Linked DNA regions of Homo sapiens: region 1 is linked to region 2. Evidence: promoter capture Hi-C in human tissues and cell types (Jung and others, 2019). All regions are on one chromosome and are shown on one strand. Each heading gives the region's core, a stretch centred on a gene start or on the middle of the fragment in contact. The rest is flanking DNA. Distances are from core to core; before and after follow the strand shown.

The links. Contacts are between HindIII fragments. The study calls those that stand out against the background at their distance.
Region 1: a contact is called between a fragment that was not itself captured here and the fragment with the promoter of TTC8 in region 2, in 1 of the 25 tissues and cell types used here (dorsolateral prefrontal cortex).

What each region holds. Positions count from the first base shown.
Region 1 is chr14:90,024,856-90,029,262 of GRCh38, reverse strand. All of the region lies in intron 15 of TDP1 (tyrosyl-DNA phosphodiesterase 1), which reads right to left. Among named protein-coding and RNA genes, the nearest start is that of KCNK13, 35 kb to the left of the region's middle. The HindIII fragment of the contact is 5,501 bases long and covers 1-4,407 here.
Region 2 is chr14:88,821,753-88,826,274 of GRCh38, reverse strand. It overlaps TTC8 (tetratricopeptide repeat domain 8), which reads right to left and starts at 1,624. Exons shown (of 15, transcript NM_144596.4): 1 at 1,454-1,624. The coding sequence starts at 1,567. RefSeq lists an enhancer at 1,613-1,972. The HindIII fragment of the contact is 5,735 bases long and covers 1-4,522 here.

The DNA of each region.
Region 1 (4,407 bases), core at 1,329-3,828, 1.2 Mb before region 2:
TGGCACCACTGCACTCCAGCCTGGGTGACAAAGCGAGACTCTGTCTCAAAAAAAAAAAAAAAAAAAAATAATGGCAGGGCTGGAAATCAAACCGTCTTTCTGATTCTTGGTCCTACATTCCTTCCACCAAGCAAACAAATGGTCTCACATTCACCACCAGGAACTATGACAAAGGAAGAATTCCTTGAAAATTTAAGGCAGGCAGGGTCAAGATGAGCCAAATTCTAGAAACCCTGGTATTTGGACATTTTAAAAAACAAAGAGGCTAGTGGCTGGGAAGTGATTCCAAGTTAATGATTATTATACTTTTATGGAGTTTCAGGTAAAAAATGACTTCTCTCTTCTTTAGCTCCTATTAGTCCTGATATTTTCAAATATATCGTGGCCACAGGTTATGGTTCTTTACAGCCTGGGCCCAGATCTGAGGCTGTGTGCTCGACCCATGACTCCATTTTGTGATATTCGACCTCAGATATGAGAAGGTTTGAACTATCCCTGTCTGACAGAAACCAATATGCTTTTATTTTGAATGCCATTTCTGATCCAAATTCTAGGTTATTACAAAAAAAAGTACTACTTTCCCCTTCAATCTGAATGTCAAATAATTTGAGGCTGTCTTCTAATTATCATTATTTATATATCACAGTGGTATCACTTGGCATTTTACAAAACAGAGGAAGGCACCCTCCCAGGCACAGATACTTAGAAGACAGTTAAGACAATACGTTTATAAAACACCAGGTGAGAGGGTGGACATATATCACACATGAGAAATTGCTGGCTTTTCCTTTCTTCAGCTTTGGGAGTGAAAGAGCTGATTGTCGCTCTGATGATTTATGTTTAGCAGCTTAGCTCAATCATAGGGAACAGGAGGCATGCTTCAGTTTCAGTTAGAGATGTAATTTATGTTTTTATTTGCAGCTATCCGAGTAGCAACCTCAAGTGGTAAAACCCTACACAAGGCATCAGGCTTTCCTGGATAAAACAGTGATAGCAGCTGAACTTCCCAGAAGGGGCACACTTAGTCAAAGACCAACTAATTGGCAAGGAAGTAAATTATAGGAAGGTGGTGGCATCTTTCCTGCAAGGCAGTATAGGATCAACAACTGGAAGTGCTTCCAGCTAGGGGCTTAGGAAAAGCTTTGTGGAGAAGTGTAAACCTAACAGGATTTTGAAGGATGGGTTTTTGATAAGCAAAGGGCTGTTTGTGTGGGGCTGGGGGAATGCAGTTCAGAAGGAAAGAAAAGAGTGCAACGTCATCACAGAAGTGACATCAAGATTCTGATTTGACTGAAAACCCATGGAGTATCAGCCCCTGCTTTCAACCTTCTGTTGAACTGTGTGGCTTATATGCTGTTGCTGCTACTGCTAATGTCAACTGCAACCTTTACTGAGACTTGCTAAGTACCAGGCACTGTTGTAAACACTTTATGGGTTATAACTCTTGATCTCACATGAGATCCTATGAGTTACATTGTTTCCATTGTACAACGAGAAAAAGGGGCCTACGGAAGTAGAATAAGGAGGCCAAATCTAACACAGCTTGTAAGCAGGATCCTAGCTCCTCTCTGTCTCACTTCAAAGTTCATTCTCTTTCTCTCATTTTGGCTCCTAGAGATCTGAGGTCCCTAAGGGATCTGTCCAATGTGTTTCCCCATATTCTCTTACCAAGTTACTTCAGAGTCTCTGAGACAAAGAGCAGTAGATCCCAGGATCACACTGCTAGTAAAAAGGGGCCATTGCTGCTACAGCCTACGTGCATTAATATGCTAACAAATACTTGTGGGTGGCTGGAGCCTGGGGGACATGCTGTTCCAGCTCACAGTGGACCTTGATGTCACACAAAGGAGTCCGGACATCATCTCGTGGGCCAAAGATTGCTGCTGAGGGTTTAAGGGCAGAGGAACACAGACCCTGACATGTGGGTAGAAACCCAGCAGTAGCCTGAGATGGGGAAAACAGGGAGGGAAGGGTCAGTTCATCCAGGGGAGAGAGAAGGTGACAACCAGTAGGAACAGGCAGAGAAATTCTTGCCAGGAATGCTCATCATCACTGGCCATCAGAGAAATGGAAATCAAAACCACAATGAGATACCATCTCACACCAGTTAGAATGGCGATCATTAAAAAGTCAGGAAACAAGAGGTGCTAGAGAGGATGTGGGGAAATAGGAACACTTTTACACTGTTGGTGGGACTGTAAACTAGTTCAACCATTGTGGAAGACAGTGTGGCGATTCCTCAAGGATCTAGAACTAGAAATATCATTTGACCCAGCCAACCCATTACTGGGTATATACCCAAAGGATTGTAAATCATGCTGCTATAAAGACACATGCACACGTATGTTTATTGCAGCACTATTCACAATAGCAAAGACTTGGAACCAACCCAAATGTCCATCAATGATAGACTGGATGAAGAAAATGTGGCACATACACACCATGGAATACTATGCAGCCATAAAAAAGGATGAGTTCATGTCCTTTGTAGGGACATGGATGAAGCTGGAAACCATCATTCTCAGCAAACTATCGCAAGGACAGAAAACCAAACACCACATGTTCTCACTCATAGGTGGAAATTGAACAATGAGAACACATGGACACAGGGTGGGGAACACCACACACCGGGGCCTGTCGTGGGGCAGGGGGAGGGGGAGGGATGGCATTAGGAGATATACCTAATGTAAATGATGAGTTAATGGGTGCAGCACACCAACATGGCACATGTATACATATGTAACAAACCTGCACGTTGTGCACATGAACCCTAGAACTTAAAGTATAATAATAAAAAAAAGAAAATAAATTCTTGCCAGGGCAGATGGTATAGGATGTGGACAGGTGAGAGGAAGGAGTAGAATGCAAGGGCCGTGGCTTTATTCGCTGGATGCGAGAACATCAGCAGGTACCAAGATACGCCATGTCAAATTGTTGCCCGGCTGTGGCCTCCTGGGAAACCCTGGGGACCCATAACAGATGGGCTGGGCCCAAGGCAGGTAGGCAGCATTGGTGTCAGGAGGAAGAAGACAAAGAGAGGGTTAAGGTGGTGGCTCTTGTAAACTGTATTAGTTCTTCCAGCCAGAGCCACATCATAAGAGTGCATGTACTTTTGGTACACACCATGTTTACAATGAAAAAATTTAAACAGAACAGAGAAAAGAGAAAGTAGAGACTTGACTTTTTGGAACCCACTAGCACAGGACCAAGTGACCCTGGGGCTCAGAAGAGGCTGAGACCAGCACAGGGACACCTGGGCTACTTTCATCCGGAAGTAAGCAGTATTGGACCCTGATCCAGGCTTCTCAGATGCTTATGTGCAATATTATTCCCAGAGGCAGGAGGAATTCTAGCCACAGTGCACTAGGCAGGCTCAAGTCTAGTGCCTACTCAGTGGCTGACAGAGTATGTGCTCAATAAACACCAAAGGAATGAGGTCCAAAGAGAGAAGTACTTGTACCTCCCTGATATATTCACAGAGGCCTTTGGGTTTGGAATACAGCTACTGATCTTTGAAATAATCACAGCTTTCCTATATTGAGACTTTCTGAACCGTAGTCTAATTTAAAAGTTAAATACACTTAAAGGGACAACCCAGAAAACATTACATAATTGATAAATTGATTTTAGACCTGAAAAGAATAAAGTCTTTGATTTAAATTAACAAACTTTTATTAGGCGACTACTACTACTATACACCAAACATCACTAAGTACTGGGCATACAAAGTCAAATGTACCTTGACATGACTCTCCAAAGCTCTTGAAAGTGTTCTTAGTCAAAGGGGAAGCTATTGACAACATACTTTACAAGTTAGGTTTCTCTCAAAAGGATGTATTTCCAGATTTATTCACTTAAAAAAACAAGAAAAAAAATAGGAACACATGGTACCAGCGACTTATCAGCCTCCAGATCAATCCCAGGTTTCAAATGGCATCTTTATCATGAATGGGAAATGCTGGTTCTCCACCTGCTGTATTTTTAGTTCACAGTAGTGTCACATCACACGGCAACTTGGTTCCAGAGTGACAGGTCCTAATCATGGCTGTGGGGAAGTAGAGAACTGCAGGATTCCTTTTCTAGGTGAGGCCTCTGCAGTGTGTGACACTGTGCCATTCTGGGCACTAAGCTTGACTATCTGCAACAATGGCTCCAAATGAGCCCCTCAGAACACAGCAAGTGACACGGCCTACTGGTGAAGGACAAAAGTGGCAACTCTGGCTGCTGATACCTCAGACATGTGGGTGGTGCGGACACAGAGTTCTACCCAAGAGATATGAAGGAGGGCTGATCTCAAGGAAGTAAATTCTGGATGATGTCCAGTCTGAAGGATGTCTAAAAAATTCTGTATTAAGTAAGTCTATTTGGCAAACATGAAGCCAAAAACACTAAAAGGCATGTCTTGCT
Region 2 (4,522 bases), core at 375-2,874:
GGCTCATGCCTGTAATCCCAACACTTTGGGAGGCCGAGGCAGACGGATCACGAGGTCAGGAGTTCGAGACCACCCTGGCTAACACGGTGAAATCCCGTCTCTACTAAAAATACAAAAAAATTAGCCAGGCTTGGTGGCACGTAACTGTAGTCCCAGCTACTCGGTAGTCTGAGGCAGGAGAATCGCTTGAACCTGGGAGGCGGAGGTTGCAGACAGCCGAGATCGCGCCGTGCCACTGCACTCCAGCCTGGGCGACAGAGCGAGACTCCGTCTCAAAAAAAAATAAAAAAAAATAAAAAAAATTTAAAAAAACCTTGGAAAAATGCTTGTCTACAGAAATATAGTCCTATTAATTAATGTGAACTAACAACAGAACCTAGCTTTGTATTACCACTAACGTAGGCTGTTCTAAGAGAGATGTACTATCTGAAAGACAAAATGTTCATCTCAGCAGGTTATCATCCATCATCCATTTGCTGGGAGCTAAGGCAGAGCCTAGTAACAGCATTCACACTCAGGCCTCCGCTTTTGTAACTCCCTTCAATTTTCCATTTTTTCTAACATCTCCAAGGCAACACCACTAGAGGAAAAGCTAGGGAACTAGAACTACGTAGGTATATTCCGCACTTACTAAAAGCACTGACAAACTGCCGCAGCGCTACTTCTGTTCTCCCATTTTCTCCTTTTTTGCCTATTCCAGGAGCCACCTGCCCACCAGAATTGTACCGCTCACGTACATTGTATACTACCTTTTCCACTCGCTATACACATTACTCTAGTTTAAGTTCTCTTTTCATCAATGCCATCATTCCTTCTTGTAAGGAGCCTTTCTTTCCCATTTCTCCCTCCTACAATTAGAGCTTCCCTTGCCTAGGTAATTTTTTAAATAATGAATGTATCTTTCTCCCTCCTAGATTCTCATTCTTCTAATTTGCATATTTGCCTCAAGCTAAACTCATGGCCTCCTTCACTCTTGGACAACAGTCTAAAGATGAGGTGGGAGGATCACATGTTCGATCCAAAAGGAAGAAGGCAGCTATGTTAACAGGAGGTGGAGAGTCACAGATCTTTGTTTATGCATATTTTTTAGAAATTAACAACGCACACGCTGAGAGCTTAAAGCCCATCAATATGCAAGTATAAACGAATTATCAAAGTTCCTCGTCAAGTAAAGTTCAGGGCTCTCATTCTGGGACACGTATAGGGGAGGGGAGGCTGAAAATTGTGAGGAGGGGGCGGTCATGGCACAGAACTTGCTATCCCCGTGGACGTGGCGGACAGCGGACCCGCTAGTCACAGCTCCACAAGGTCTCGCTCCGGGCGCCTCCGAGGGCCGAACGGTCAGCCCCGCCTCGGGCCTTCCTCCCCGGCCTCCCAACCCGGGGCTGGGATATGCCCCAGACCCCGCAGCCTCAGCGTCAGGATGCACAGGCTGACGGGAGCTGGCCGGTACCTGGTCATAAGGGGACTTCTCCAGCATCTGCGTGCATAGATCGGCGCAGAGCTGGAACTTCCTGCGCCTAAAATAGCTCCAGGCCAGGAGCAGCGGCTCCATCTCCGAGCTCATGGCTGCCGGTGCGGCCAGCGAAGGCCCAGCGCTCCAGGAGAGAGGTGGGCGTGGAGTGAAGAGCTGGCGGCGTCCGACTCTGCCCGGCAACCCGCGACGGCTGGGGCCTTGTCCGAGAGGTGCCCGCAGCGCGCCTGAGAACAGGAAAAAGAAAAACAACCGCAAGCAGAACTCGGCTACAGGGCTTGCCTAAACTTGGTTGGAAAAAGATGTCTACTTTTAAAGGCTACAGGTTTCATTGATTTTGAAAAGAAGGCACCGCGGCTAAACAAAAAGGTAGTGAGTTAGACACCTGCCCCTGGGGTCCCCCACCCTCCCAGGAGGCGCAGCTGCCTAGCAACCGAATGCTCTGCCTGCCCTGCAGGTCCGGAAGAGTCCCTGGAGTTGATCTCTGTCTGGTGTCTGTCCTACTTCTTCCATTCGCTCGTTTCCATCCCTTTCGCTTTACCTTCCGATTCTAGAAATACAAACAAGTAAACAGCTTCCACAGTACCATCCACCCATCAAGACCTAAAGTCCTAAATCCTGAAATTGTCCGCTGTTTCTCGAGGTCCTTCCCACCGAATCTCAACATCTGAACTGCAAGTGGTTTGCTTTTACTCATTTTACAGATGAGAAACTGAGATAGACTCAGAGAAGAGAAATTATTAAAATTGCATTGAGTTAGGGAGCTGGAACTGCAATCTGGTTGACTACAAGTTGCTAATACATTTGTTAATTCGACTCACATGGTGATTCCGGATTGTAAATTGGTGACAGTTTTACCAAACTAGATAATGTGTGCAAAATAATAATAATAATAATAATAATAATAATTTTTAAAAGCTTTGTGAAACATCGTCTCCTGGCACTTGCTGTTTGGCAAGGGTTTACTTGTGCAGAGTGATTTCTTCAAACACAATTCTGACTTTTCTCTAGAAATTTGCACAGATGACAAATATGCTTAAAATTGCAATGGTTATGAAAAGAGAGGTGTGACCGGCTAAATCCAGGTAGGCTTTTCTCAAACCACTGGGGTCTGAGAAAACATTAGACATTCTATTTAATCCACATATTTATATTTTTCATAGGTATTAAAATGAAACTTATGCTTCTAAACTAAGAAATTTATTGTTACCTTTTATTCTCTACTAAGCAGTCTTTCTTGAATTGTTGTATTTTGGAAGTCAGTAATTATCAGGATTGTCATTGTTACAGTTAAGTGTATTGTCATTAGTCTATTTGTGTTCTCCTGGAACTGCCGGTAGAAATGTAATCTCCCTAAAGGTCCTAATGAAGCAGCCCATGGTTTCTGAGTGTCAAATTTTTAAGAACGCACATGCCGACAATTGACAATTGGGCTCAATATTTCACAGCGTCTTTTTGTTTTCTGGTACACTGTAAGCAGATTACTATGTAAGTGATTTTCAACCCTACTAGAGAAAGTGAAGCACAGAGAAACCCTTTAAAAGGGTCAGTTTCACAAATGATGCTAGATCTCAGTTCATAGATCCTTATCTTTTACTCTCTAGCATATAGTCAGATGTTCTAAATAAACTTTTTTAAAGAATAGTTTTCGATTTACAGAAAAGTCACAAAAATAGTAGACAGTTCCCATATACCCAGTTTCTCTATTGTGTGAGATGTTGACATTTGTTTTAGTGTAAGATGATACATTTGTTACAACTAAGGAATCAACAATGGTACATTACTATTAAATAAACTCCACAGTTTATTTGGATTTCAGTAGTTTTCCCTTAATGTTATTTCTCTATTCCAGGATCTCACTTAGGGTACCACATAACATTCGGTTATCATGTCTCCTTCACCTCCTCTGACACTGTGGCAGTTTTTTAGACATTCCTTGTTTATGATGACCTTGACAGTGTTGAAAAGTGCTGGTCAAGTATTTTGTAGAATATCTGAGAAGTTCTTAAAAATAGAGATGTCCCAATTCCAGCCCTAGAAATATTGACTTAAATTGTTTGAGGTAGGACTGGGGCATCGGTTTTGTTTTTTTAAGTGTCTCAGGTGATTCTGATGGGTAGCCAGGATTAATCACCCACTACATTGAGTTCTAGTCATGTATCTATTGAGATTATTGCCAACTTCCTACAGAGAAACACTATTTACATAAGTGGGGAAATAAACATGCCAATAAACATATAAATAAATGTGGAACAAATGAGGCATTAAAATATTTTAGTAGCATATAATGTGTGTTAACTTCTTTCAGAAGGCTGTTTTTTTCCTCTCACAAAAGTCAAATGAATGAGGAAAATTGTAGGATATTTAGTAAATTACAGGATGTTAAACATGTCCAAATGTAGCATAAAATGTGTCTTTAAAAGGATATAAAAATATGTTATTTTTAATATCATGTAAATATGTTTATGGTTCATTGATTTTATGAATTTATAGACAGACTTACATTTTTTAATAATATCTAACTGATAAAGCAGAAACCATTTTTTTAAAGATATGCTAGTAATAGGAAGAATAGACAATGTAACAATTCCTGGTGAAGGGAATAGATAAGAGTTACTAGGACCATTTTCCTCCTAGAGAAAGTGAAGCACAGAGAAACAAGCCCTTTAAAAGGGTTAGTTTCACAATCGATGCTAGATCTCAGTTCATAGATCCTTATCTTTTACTCTGTAGCAACTAGATATTTCTTTAGGTTAATCAGTCTTAAATCAAATACCTAAGGTAATTTAACTTTAAATGCCAAAGTTTAAATTTTCTTAAATGTTAAATTGGAATTATTCTGCACATTTAACCCAAAAGAAAAACAAAAGGCATAAAATGAGATATTTTCTTGGTCAACAAGTATTTGCCCGGGCTCTGTGCTTGGTGGTAAGAATGCAGAGATCAACAAGACAGATCTCCTGGCCGGAGAGTACTTATACACAAAGAGTAATTAGCACGAAGAGCACTGGACTTAAGGTTAGATTTAGCAGCCGTGTTTTCTCAGGC